Regions from separate parts of the Homo sapiens genome. Here region 2 is linked to region 1. The links are contacts of gene promoters, found by promoter capture Hi-C in blood cells and fetal thymus (Javierre and others, 2016). All regions are on one chromosome and are shown on one strand. The core of a region is centred on a gene start or on the middle of the fragment in contact, and the rest is flanking DNA. Distances in the headings are between cores, read along the strand shown. Region 1 holds the start of KLHL14 (kelch like family member 14). Region 2 overlaps LOC105372058 (a long non-coding RNA gene).

Region 1 (6,763 bases), core at 405-2,904:
CTTTGTGAGGGTTAAATGCTTCAGTTTGATCCTTCTTAATTCATTTAAGTGTGACTATCCCATGTGCACGTTAATGTTATCATTGTAAATGGGGAATCCCTATTTCTGAACCTCAGAATTTTTAATTTTCCTCCCTTTCCTAAGCAGGTGTCTTTCCATCTCTCACAAATCAAAGAGGATGATGGGGGGTCTGAATAGATGTCTTGCAATGGTGCCCTGATACGTATTTTAATAAGTTTACTAATCAGAGCACATATAAATTAGAATGAATCATAGTCATATAGTTAATAGCAAACAAAGCTCAATTTAGTTCATGTCCAGCTTTCTTCGTGTTCATTTTACTCAAGGGCATACCTTCCTTTTTCTGCTTCTTTTTTTTCTTTCTTTCTTGGACACCTCCAACCCCCATTGACAACCGAAATGCAGGGCTATAAACATAAGGGTGCAATACATCATGAGATAAGTCTGGAGAACATGTCCTCTACCAAAATGCACATGAATCTCTGGTACAGCTAAAATTCCAGAAACATGCTGGGGTTCCTTTTGCATGCTAAGCAGGGTCAAAAATGTGAGCACTATGTGGTTGCCCTTATATATCAGATGAGCTCTAAAGTTGAAAGGTTACATTTGTGAAATTGCGGCTGGGTTTCCTAGCACTTGATTCTAGCTCCTGCAAATCAAAGACTCCTAATTGAAATACAAATCCAACAATATGATAATCTTTCAGTAAAAAAAAAAAAAAAAAAAAAACGTGACTTCTGCACCCTTATCTGTTGAAGAGCTGACAGAGAAGTTCAGAGGCAGTTGTTTAACCAGACAAAATGATAGAGAAAATATGTTTTCAAATAAGATCATAAACCTTGAACAGTGCCTTGTGGGAAGCAAATGTAAAGCAAAGGGCTGTCCTCTATTCTGTCTACCAGCTCTACTCCCCCACCCCGGTGTGTATCCTCAGCCACTCACCTTTTAGGCAAGGGCTAGTGTCTTTCAGGACAGACCCAAACCCCAAATACCAAAACAGAATAAAGTAGTGTCTTAGCATACTTTGAGATCAGACTGTTTCTGCATTTCACAGTGCTGGGGGTGGGGGGGAGGTGTGGGGGGAAGGGAAAAGCAGCATACCAATGTAGTGAAATCTGGAAACAACAGCATATATACAGACACAAAAAAAGTTTGCATATTGCACAGAGCACTTGAAGATCATAAATCTATGCATGAGAAAGATGTAGTGGAAATTTTGGGGGGGATTAGAGTTTATTTTTGTCATCTCTGTGAGACAGCTACTCATTCATCCAGATCACAGCTAAGAAAAAAGCTGGTCACAGAAATTAGCAGTTTCAGCTCAGCAGCGAAGTCGCCAGCCTGTGAAGGCAGAGAGAAATTGACTAATTAGCAATGCGCACTAAAACTTGACGGTTCTTTATAGAGAGAGAGAAGAGAGAGGGAGAGAGAGGGAGAGGGAGGGAGGGGGGGCTCGCTTTTTCCCCTTCTTTCTTCCAAAGATGTTTGAAATCGCAGTCATTTACGCTCGACAATTTTTACAATAGCCTTGAGCCATAATTTTGCGAGTCTCTCCAGCATCCATCCCCCTGTATGGTCTCTCTCTACTGGCCAAGCACGACCGTTTCTCTCCCCAACCGTGGATTTCCTATTACTCTCGTTACGACTCACTGAGCCCCAGGCCCAAGGATAATGATGTGTTGTTTCTTGGTAGCATAATTTGTCACACGTACATTTTTTCTTCTTCTTCTCTTGCAGAAAGCTCTGCTCCCTCTCTCTCTCCCTCTCTCTTTCTCTCTTTTCTCCCTCTCCTACATTTTCTTGCTGTTGCTAATTCATGGTGATCAAATGATGTACGACAAAATAAATTGTAAAGAGTGACTGCCTGGAGTTGGGAACCAGAAGGTGTTTTCCCCCTCCCAAGGAGACAGCAAACCTTTAAAAAGGAAGGACAATTGATTTTTGGGGGGAGCTTAAGTGAGCCTTGACTTTGCAGCTGGTTGAGAACAGGTAAGTTTCTGGCCTTGTGTCTGCCTTGTGTGTATTTTGTTCTGTCTTTTGGATTGTTGGAGGGGGAAGGGCCGGGGAGGGAGTCTTTCAGAGGGGTTGGCGGGGGGGTAGTTGTATGGCAAACGCTCATAAAGAAAAAACTCCTATTGCAAGAAATAAGCAGATGAGGAGGAAAGGCAAGGGAGAAGAACAAGAAGGAAGGGGAATAGGAAAAGATGGGGCGGGGGGAGACAACGAAGCGGAGAGAGCTAGAGAGAGGTATGACCGGGTCCTCTTAAAGGGAGAGAGACTCTGTAAGATGTTTCAGGCAAGCCAGAGCTTTGGGGGCGGGCGTGGGGGTGCTGCCGGCGGAGGGAGCGCGAGGGAGGGTAGGGTCCACCTGGAACGGGATGGTAAAGTGAGTCGAAAGGAGCCCAGTCCGGTATAAATAGGAAGCCGGCGATCCAGGACCGGCGCCAGGCAGGGCAGAGTGAGCCGCAGTGGAAGGGGCAGGTCCGCCGGGATCCCTCCGAGCCGGGCGGCGGCGGCGGCTCTCCCCCGGGCGGGCGGGCCGGCGGGCCGGCGGGCCGGCGCGCGGGCGGGATGCAAGCAGAGGGTCCCTTTCTGCTCAGCCCTGGAAGGTGCAATTACAGGTTAAGGACCTGGCGTATCGATTTCGCCTCGCCTCCCCCACCCTGCCCTCCTCTGCCTAGATGCGGGCGGCTCAGACTTTTTACAGAAGTAGTTCCAGGGCCGGGGAAGTGGGGGTGCCCGAGTGGGGGGCCGCTGGGGGCTCTACCGAGGGGGTCAGAAGGGAGCTGCGGCTGCAGGCGACGATGCTGGGTGGGGCGCAGAGACCCCGCACCCCACTGCTCCCCCGCCCCCCCGCTCGTTCGACAGCCCCCACCCCTCCCCCAACACCTGCCTTCTAACTTGAACTTCTCATAGTTACTGGAGTTAAAGCGACTGCGCCTGGTGCCCGGGAGGGGAAACCGTGCACACGAATCCCTCCCGGCCTCCAGGCCTCCCGGCTCCCTCTCCAAACGCGTCCTCGCAGCCCCACTTCCTCCCCCTGAGTCCTCGGTGCCGCCCCTCGCTGGAAGGGGAGATTGATGCCTGAACTTCCGCGCTTTGAAATGAGCGAGACGGGGGAGAGGGGGCCACCGGGTGGGGGTGGCGGTGGTGGAAGGATTCTCCTGCCAGGTTTAAAGCCATCTCTGGAAAATTAGCCAAACTGAGTGGTGACGGGGAAGCCAACAGTTTGCGAAGCGGGGAAGCGGGCAGGGCCAGGTTGAGGGAAATGAGCTCGAATTGATAAGGACAGCTCCCGCCTCTGCCGATTCCACTGAGCGGGTCCTCACCGCGCTCCGCTGCACTTTCCCGGGAGAAGAAAGGGCTTTATCTCCTCCCTCAGACTATTAGCCTAGGAGTTTCTCGGGGCAGCATGGATAATCGAAGGGGGTCCCAGCTTTTGGAGAGCTAAGATTCGCACACCCCGCACGCTGGTCGGGCCCCTGTTCCTACCCCCTCCCCCAAACTGGGCCAACTGCGAAAAGCAAAGCTTCGGGCACAAGTTGACCTGGAACCTTCGCCGTCGGTCGCCTCTGAGCTTTCAGGGCACCCCCGGCTCCCCACTTCCCGGCCTTTCCCTTCATCTGGCCCGGCATGGACACGAGCCCACGAGGTGCCTCGGCCTCAGCCGCCACTTTGCCGTCGCTGCTGCCACTGCTGTTGCTGCCAACAGCCGAGCTGAGGTGGTTGGTTTTAGGAAAGTGAGGGACGAAGTGTGTGGGAGGTGGCGAGAGGAGCCGCAGGGCGCAGAACCGGCGCCGGGACCCCAGACAGGGCCCTTCTGGTGGCGCTCACGGATCCAGCGTCTTCGGACTTTCCTCCTAGGGTCGGGGTCCGGAGCGCGCCAGGAGGGAGTCAAGCTGAGCCTTGATTCTTGTTCTTCGCCCTCCCCTCCCCTCCACACCCTTCCCCACCCCGACCACACCCCACCCGCTCCACCACCCTGCTCCCCTCCCTCCCATCCCCCACCCCTGTCTGCCAGGTTGGAGGAGGGTTTAAAGCCAGGTGCACCGAGTCAGCTCGCCATGTCCAGATCCGGGGACAGGACCTCCACCTTCGACCCCAGCCACAGCGACAACCTGCTGCACGGCCTCAACCTGCTGTGGAGGAAGCAGCTGTTTTGCGACGTGACCCTGACGGCCCAGGGCCAGCAGTTCCATTGCCACAAGGCCGTGCTGGCCTCCTGCTCGCAGTACTTCCGATCGCTCTTCTCCAGCCACCCCCCTCTCGGGGGAGGGGTCGGCGGCCAGGACGGCCTGGGGGCCCCCAAGGACCAGCAGCAGCCGCCGCAGCAGCAGCCGTCACAGCAGCAGCAGCCGCCGCCGCAGGAGGAGCCCGGGACTCCTTCTTCCTCCCCCGACGACAAGCTGCTGACCAGCCCCCGGGCCATCAACAACCTGGTGCTGCAGGGCTGCTCGTCCATCGGGCTGCGCCTGGTGCTCGAGTACCTCTACACGGCCAACGTGACCCTGTCCCTGGACACGGTGGAGGAGGTGCTGTCGGTCAGCAAGATCCTGCACATCCCCCAGGTCACCAAGCTCTGCGTGCAGTTCCTCAACGACCAGATCTCGGTGCAGAACTACAAGCAGGTGTGCAAGATCGCCGCGCTGCACGGCCTGGAGGAGACCAAGAAGCTGGCCAACAAGTACCTGGTGGAGGATGTGCTGCTGCTCAACTTCGAGGAGATGCGCGCCCTGCTGGACTCGCTGCCGCCCCCCGTGGAGTCGGAGCTGGCGCTCTTCCAGATGTCCGTGCTGTGGCTGGAGCACGACCGCGAGACCCGCATGCAGTATGCGCCTGACCTCATGAAGCGCCTCCGCTTCGCCCTCATCCCGGCCCCGGAGCTGGTGGAGCGGGTCCAGTCAGTGGATTTCATGCGAACCGACCCGGTCTGCCAGAAGCTGCTGCTGGACGCCATGAACTACCACCTGATGCCCTTCAGGCAGCACTGCAGGCAGAGCCTGGCCAGCAGGTAGGAGACAACAAAGAGGAGGGCGGGGGAGGGGGGGGTAGAGCCAGAGAGGCCGGAGGGAGGGGAGGGGGCAGGGAGGAGGGAAGAGATGGGTGGCCTGGGCGGGTGGCTCTGGCAGGATGAAAACAAACGCAAACAATTCAGAGTGTGTGAGGAAAGTTGATTTCAGAGTCCCTGAAAGGTCAATAGGGAACTGGCCTAGCAGCATCCCTGAGCGCTCCAAAGCCGAGGTTCTAGATATCCCCAGAGCCGTAAACATGGGAATTGTGGACTCAGACTGAAATTGACAGGCAGATGGGGCCAAAGGCCAGGACAGTTAGAAGTGTAGCTTTGGAAGTCTCTCTAAGCCAGCTCTCCCTACAAATCTTAAGATGGGCTTGCTCAAGAAAAAGGATCCTGTGGTGAGGAATGCCCACCCCACCCCTCCTCAGTTCTGCCTTGGGTGAGCAGAAGAGCCCAGGCGATGCTTGCAAAGGAAGGCTTTCATGGTCTTGCCGTCACACACTCAAGTTGTTTCTTCATGACTGGGATCTGCTCCCTGTCGATGTCAGAACTCCAAAATGCTTTGTCTATTAGGGTCACTATTGGAAATGCTGGTATCATGTGCCCAGGCAAACTTTTCTATGTTGTGGAAAGCCTTTCCTTTTCACTTTTAAAGGAGAGTAAAGCAAGAGATTTCAGGGTGATGGGGTGAATCTTGCCTAGCAACTCCCATTTCTGAGAAGAGTGCACTTGAAAATTGGGATGGAGGAGTGGAGAGGCTTCTAGCTCCAGTTGGTCTGTGTGCCTGCTCACCAGTGACAAAGAAGTTGGAGAGTTGCTGCTGCCTCTGTTGTTGCTAGTTAGAAATGTGGCTGTGTGTGTTGCAAGTAGGATTTCAGGGGAGAGAGAAATGATGCCTTTTAAAAATGCTGCTGAGATAAAAAGGCTGTAGGAATTGACAATCGTGTTTTATTGGCTCCAATTTTAAAACCATTTTTAATGAGCCCTAGCAAAGGGTTTCTTTCTCTTTTTAGAAAAGAGAAACAGTATCCTCTCAGTTTCTCATGATAAAACATCATGATTCCAGATGCCAGGCTACTCCAGCCTAACCACCAAAGTGTTACAAAGTGTAGCAAAGTACATGGTTTGAAAATCTAGCAGGGCATTTTCCCAGTCAGAATGATGTCTAAAGAATGGGGCCCACCTTGTGCAGCCTTATAGAATTAAATGGTGTGTGTGTGTGTGTGTGTGTGTGTGTGTGTGTGTGTGTGTCATTATGTTTCCACCAGACCTAGGTAACTAAAGTTTAAAGAAATGGAAGATACTCTCTACACTTTTTTAGGCAGCTCTTGTGTTAAGGAGAGGCCAACAGGAGGCATGAGAAATCTTGAACTTGTAACAAAACCCTGTAAGTTCATTTTTCTAACATCTGTGGGAGATGAGTTAACGAATCGTGTTGTCAAAAGATGATAATAGGACAATAGAAGAAACAAGAATCCAAATCCCCGTGTGCTTTTAACAGTGAGCACAAGAGGCCAATGAGGAAAAAAACATGAAACGTATTTTTATTTTATTGGAATTTTTCGTTTGTCTAAAGATCCAAATGGCAAACTCAGTGTGATGGGCGATGGGCCTTGGTGATTAATATTCTGTGATTTAAATTTTTGTCACTTTTAAATGACCTACAAGTATACTTCATTTAGCATATATCACACATAGTCAATAATTCAGACAACACAGTTATAGTTC
Region 2 (6,574 bases), core at 2,641-5,140, 130 kb before region 1:
AAGAAGGAAGTGCTAGAAAAGAAGGAAGTGCTAGAAAAGAAGGAGGGGCTAGAAAAGAAGAAGGGGCTAGAAAGGAGCCGGGACATGCAGGGCTTTGCAGGGTTAGGGAGTTGTGGTGGGAGAGGTTTGGGTTGTGTTCTAAACAGGACTGAAAACCTATGCCGGTTTTTCAGCTACAGGGAGACCTCCTGCAATGTATGGTGTAAAAAACTTTAATAACAGTAGGGTAGAGAAAGGAATCTACCAAAACCAGACTTAGAAAAGGAAGGCCAGTTTGGAAGTTACAGAAGCTTTCCAGGCACTGGGGTGTGAAGGGAGGATGGGGCAGGAGTTGGCAAAGACTGAATGGAAAGGAACTCAATGACAGATTCCAGGAGGAGGCGGGTGAGGAGAATGAAAGAAATAAGGGAATTCCCGGTGACTGCAGGTTTCTGAACTGAGTAGATGAATCATTTATTAGATGGGAGAGAAACCGGTGTTGACAATTCTGAAAGTGGATGGGTAAAGTTTGAAATGCCTATGAGCCATCCAAGTGGAGACATGAAGAAGGCGCTACCCGACACGGTTCTGTGCATTCTACTTATCCACTATCCAGAGTGTCAATATTTATCACATTGGAAAACTCTTCAAAGTAACAGTCACCATTTGCCAGGTGACAATTTGATCCTTCTGGTGCATTGCATCTCTTTGGTGTATTGACTAAATGTGATTGTTACATGTTAAGACTGCATCTCACTATCAGTGTCAGTACACAAAATTCACTATCAAATGCTCAGCACAGAGCTCAGAAAATGAAGGTTTATCTGGAAGACTTCTGCAAAGGCCTGAAGGGATGGCAGTATCAGATTTATAGGTCAATGATGAGGTCTCATGATCTAGAATCTGAAAAATTCAGAATGTACCTGCAAGAACACAGCCCCCTGGAGAGATGTGACATAGTAAATACCTACGGTATACATTGGTAAACACACTAACATGGTCTCCTCGGGTTCTAAAAATGTCACACAAAAGACATTTTTCCTAAAATACAGATCAACTGGTTGCTGCATGGGGAAAAGCATTTGGTGGGAGGGAGGAGTAGGAAGGAAAATTCCACAATCACAAACTTGTTTCTTATAAGAGAAGAACATGCAAATCATGTTTATCAAAGAAAACTGTATAAAATGTTGCAGAACCTTTCCTGTCAAATGAATATAAGATGCTAATTGGTGATGTATGTAGTCCCAGAGATGCTTGGCATGCAGAGAGTGAGTGAAGTACAACAAAGCATTTGTATGGGCCATCTGGAAGGGCATACCACACTCCTGCATGTGATGAAAAAGTGCAATTAAACAGAAACTTTGGAAACCAAGGCCTAAATATGCATGGCCTTGACCCAGGTCAAGATCCTTGCGAGAAACCCTTCCATGCACCTAGAGACTACGGTGACCAAACGCAGCGGAACACGGCTTGGTGAAGCTATTGCCAGCCCTTTAGTGAAGCTATTGCCAGTCCCTTTGCAATGTGGACATCTCTACAGCTTTACCAAGCATGAAGATTGTGTTCCCAATGTACTTCATATGTGAAACTTCAAGTTTTGCATTCACTCACACACACACACACACAGACACATGCGTGCACACATGCGCGAGTATTTCCCACAAACACCAAAGATAATATACAAAATAGAAATATTTGTTTTTGCTCTATGCATGAGAAAACTTTTAAAATGTTCACCAAAGGAGTAAAAATTATGAAATACATTTTTACTCATTTCAGCTTACAAACTGGATTTTCAAAACTTAAAATTTTGGAGGGTAATAAATCCTTGAGATAAAAGTGTTTCTAAATTTTGTTCAAATAAATATCTCAGTCTGTAAGGAGAACTAGTCCATTTTTTAAACAGTATTTGATGGCTTGAAGACGGGCCATAAAATTTGGTGATCCATTTTTAAATGAATGATTTGGTTTCCAGTGAGGAAGCCACTGGCAGTCTGAATTGTTGAAAGAAGCATGAGGAGAGAGAGTAATTCAAGACCACAGAGACCCCCAGAATCAGGTCCTGTGGATGCTCAGCCCTGTATTCTGCCCTTTAAGGCTCATGTTTTTTACCCTGAACTCTTGTCACTTATATCTTTGTTTGAAGAAAAGTTTCAAGATTGCTTTAGTCCACGGCTGGTTAAAAGACAAAGGAACCCAAAGCACAAATACGAACACCTGGGAAATTGCATTTTCGTGATCAATCTACCTCTTCTTAAATACACTTTGTTTGTTTGCCTATCTGAGTGTAAGCCCCAAGGCAAGAACTGTGTCTTTTTAATGTGTTTCACAGCACCGAACCTATTGCAAAAGCTGAGGCAATGATAAACAGTAATAATAATGCCATTCAAAGGGAATGCTGACTCAAATAGCGTGATTTTAACCCTGCTGGTTTAGATACTTGGAGTTGGGAAAAGATATGGCACTAGAAAAATTTATAAATATATAATCCAACTCTGCTTCTAAAATCTTCCAAAATCCGAGTCATTCTAATCTCTGTTTGGGTTGCATATTTTGAAAACTGAAATGGTAAAAGTAATATTTGCCAAACACACACACACACACACACACACACACAAACCTGTACTAGAACAAAAATGTAATCACCAAACATTTTCTGAGCACCAACAGTATTCATTAAAGAAATAAAAGAAAATAGGATACATTTCCTACTCTCTCAGACCTCATAATGTATAGGCAGATCATGAAAGAGTTAAGAGAGGGGAAAACAGGAGATTTTTTTTAATGCTTTTGTGAAAACCGTGCCCTGTAGATCATAATAAAATGCACTCATTTGAAATGGATGGTCTATTCCTAAGAACATACCTACATGGGTCAGCTCTTTGGAGGAAAAATGCAAGACTGATTATCTACACTCAGGGAATGGGGCCTGACTAGAGAGTGTGCTTGGAGCACCTTTCTGAGTTTTCAGAAGACATGTCATTAGTGGAAATATAAGAGGGGCTCTAGGCCAGGTGTGGTGGCTCACGCCTGTAATCCCAGCACTTTGGGAGGCCGAGGTGGGCGGATCACCTGAGGTGGTCAGGAGATCGAGACCATCCTGGCCAACATGGTGAAACCCCGTCTCCACTAAAAATACAAAAAATTAATCAGGCATGGTAGCACGTGCCTGTAGTCCCAGCTACTCGGGAGGCTAAGGCAGGAGAATCCCTTGAACCTGGGAGGCAGAGGTTGAAGTGAGCCAAGATCACGCCACTGCACTCTAGCCTGGGTGACAGAGTAAGACTCCGTCTCAAAAAAAAAGAGGTTCTAGCCTAAAATACTTATCTTCCACCTATATATTTATCTGAATTGTTTATCACATTAGCTAGTTGCCATTTCCCCAGAGCAGAAACCTAAAAGACTGAGACAGGAGGATGCATAGGTGTTGATGAGACCGATAGTGAAGAAATCTGGCAGCCTCAGTGTGAAGAGCATAGCACATTTTTGAGAAAGATACTGAAAAGAAGGAAGGAGATGTTTTAAGAATGGAATTTAGGAAGACATTGGGAGACCAGGGGAAAACTTGCCTGCCATACAAATTATCCAGTTCTTAACCTGAATGTTACTTTGAGGAGGATTAGGCACAGCTCAATATTCTGAAATTAAATTCATCTAGATTTTATATAATGAATTTCAATTTGCCATTGCAGCTTTCCTAACTGGAATTAGGACTGTAATTACTCCTGGTGGTTTTTGTGACCCAGAAGATTCAAGAAAATTTGAAGCTGTAGGATCTTTGGAAGCCAAAAGGTAGTATGTGTCACTGGAGACATTTTTACATTTTCAATGTTACAGACTGAATTTTGCCTCCCTCCCTTCATATATTAAAGTACTAATTCTTAATGTGATAGTATTTGAAGATGTGACCTGTAGACAAGTGATTAAGATTAAATGATGTCATAAGGGTAGGATTCTAACTCCATATGACTAACGTCTTTATAAAAAGAGGAAGAGACCCCAGGGATGTGTACACAGAGAAAACACCATATGATAACATAATGAAAAGGTGGCCATCTGCAAGCCAAGGAAAAGAGTCCTCACTAGAGACCAACCCTGCCAACACCTTGATCTTAGAATTCCAGCCTACAAAATGGCAAGAAATAAGTTACTGTTGTTTAAATCACCCAGTTTGGCGTTTTGTTTTGGCAACTCTAGCAGACAATACACTGAACTCACTTAAGTGATTACTCACTAGGAAAATTGCTCTTCATAAAGGAAAAAATAGCATAAATGTGCCACTAGGACAAAGAGGGGCAACAACAAATAGAGGAACTTAGAGTCTAGAGTGATGATTTTCAGTTGGGTGAAGGGATGGCCAGGTACAAGGTAACTTCTGCAAAATCTATGTCTTACTTCCCTTCTCTCAGAACCCTACACCAGATGCTGATTTATTTTGAGACCAGCATGAATAATTGAAAATGTTTCCAGATAATTCTAATATATGAGCACCCTTCCTCTCTCACCCCTCCACTCTGGCTTAGACATTCATCACCGAACTGCTGGATGCCTATTATAAAATTAAAGTGCATCAGTGGTGACTATTCCAGCTAATGGCTGATTATCCAAAGGCCAATCATGAACCATAGTTATATGAAAATAGTTGTCTTCACTCTCTATTCCATCTACGATATCAAAGCAGAATCAGAAGCAACAGTAAAACGCCAGAAATGTGAGATGCCATTCCTCAGGAAGAAATTGTCTATATTTGTCCAGAATAGAGCATCTTACATAATAGATGAAACATAAAGCCTCACCTCTCTTGGGATATGAAAATATTAAATGTGTAACTGATCCACAAAGAAAACAAAGTCTCCTATTGTCATTACTTTGTTCAATTAGGTCCCACATTTCTATTACTTATTTGGCAGAGACGTAAGGTTTTGCCCATAACTGAGTTCTCTACTTCCCTTTCAATTAGGCTAGAATTTCCAGTCTCTCTTCCAGTTAGGTGTAGCAATATGACTAAGTTCTCACCAAAAGGATGAGTAGAAGTGACATACACTCCTTCCAGGCCCACCTGAGAACCTCATTTCTTTTCCTGACCATAAGGTAGAACAAGAAGATCTGAGAACCTGAATAAAACTGAGTCTCATAATGAAAATTGCCTGGGTCCTTGGATGACTGCATAGTGGAGCAACCTACTAATCCCCCAGATTCAATAAATTAACAGGGGTGAAAAATAACCTTTCATTATTTCAATCCATTTCCATTACTGTTATTTATTAGAACAGTAGACCAATTCTAATAACACATTTATATTAGAAATAGCAAAGAGTTCTCTTTTTTGCCAATAAGTTCCAGGAGTTTTCACTTTAGGAATGATCATCTGAAGCTAAACAATTCATATTCACCCTGATCTTGCAGAAGCTCTGAGTCAATTCCCATGCAAGGCTAAAGGGTAACTGAGCTGATGGACTAAGTTTTTTGATGAAATTAAAGCAGGGGTCATGGTGATCTTTCACAGTTGAGTGATGTCTTTCTTCAAAGACGTATATATCTTGGATGTATTCCATAAGAGTTGCTCTCCTTTATGAGCCTTGTCAGATGGGGTCTTCTTATAATTCCACTTTCCTTGAAATGAGAGAACCAGGGCCAAGCACTATGAGCACTTATTAGATATTCCTTGATGATTATATAAACATACAAGTTTAAGTCTGATAAGCCTAGGCTATGGACTATGGAAATAGAGCTTAATTATGGCCTGGACATGTTTACTGGTTAGTAGCAAGTGTCTGGGTTTCTGGCCATTCTGTTGATCTTTATTGATACATAATAGTTGTATATATTTTGGGGGTATATGTGATATTTTGGTATATGCATACAATGTGTAAAGATCAAATCAGGATAATTGGAATATCCCTCATCTCAAACATTTATCTTTTCTTTATGTTGGGAATCTTCCAACTCTGGTCATTGTCTTGAGGGCAGTTTTGCAAAGCATGTGTTTGATTAACCTCTCAAATCATAACCTCCTGTCTCCCAACCTATGGGGGTATGGAAGGAAGAACTGAGTATTCCCAATTCATTTTATCTGCGCCCATATGGGTTTGTCACATGCTCATTGGAATAATAATGTCTGAGAGCAATGAGGGGGTGGATAGATCACTGGAGAGTGTGTGTGTGTGTGTGTGTGTGTTATCTGCAGGGATAGACAGATAGCAGTTCTAGGGAAGTAAAAAGCAGGGCAGAGAAGTAACAAATGGACATATGAATACTCTACCCAATCTCTGGCCTTTTACAAACAAATAGGTTTAACCCTATACCATAGTATCACCAATATTACTAATTAGGATGAGCCATGCTATTTGATAAACTTTTATTATGTTTTATTATAAACAAGAACATTTGAATTTTTCACTATTAATAACAAATAACATGTGTTAGAACTTAATGAACCACAAAGCACTTTGCATAAACATTATCTCAAAGCAGAAATTTTTTTGGGCCCTGCACCCCATCCACTTGGCCCACCTCTGATTTCAGAGCAGCTATGGTAGCACTTCCATGCATGTACTCTGCCACCATTCTTTCTCAAGCTCAAGCAGCAACTTCT

The links. Contacts are between HindIII fragments. The CHiCAGO score rates a contact against its expected background, and 5 or more counts as called.
Region 2: a fragment that was not itself captured here is called in contact with the fragment with the promoter of KLHL14 in region 1 in 1 of 17 cell types (naive B cells); the score reaches 5.8 in naive B cells.

What each region holds. Positions count from the first base shown.
Region 1 is chr18:32,767,914-32,774,676 of GRCh38, reverse strand. KLHL14 (kelch like family member 14) reads left to right here and starts at 1,654. Exons shown (of 9, transcript NM_020805.3): 1 at 1,654-2,010; 2 at 4,043-5,032. The coding sequence starts at 4,086. It overlaps LOC105372055 (a long non-coding RNA gene), which reads right to left and starts at 4,001. Exons shown (of 2, transcript XR_935342.4): 1 at 2,390-4,001; 2 at 1,236-1,362. The HindIII fragment of the contact is 5,436 bases long and covers 1-3,552 here.
Region 2 is chr18:32,900,532-32,907,105 of GRCh38, reverse strand. LOC105372058 (a long non-coding RNA gene) reads right to left here. Exons shown (of 10, transcript XR_935361.2): 7 at 6,493-6,574; 8 at 5,373-5,592. Among named protein-coding and RNA genes, the nearest start is that of KLHL14, 130 kb to the right of the region's middle. The HindIII fragment of the contact is 7,195 bases long and covers 293-6,574 here.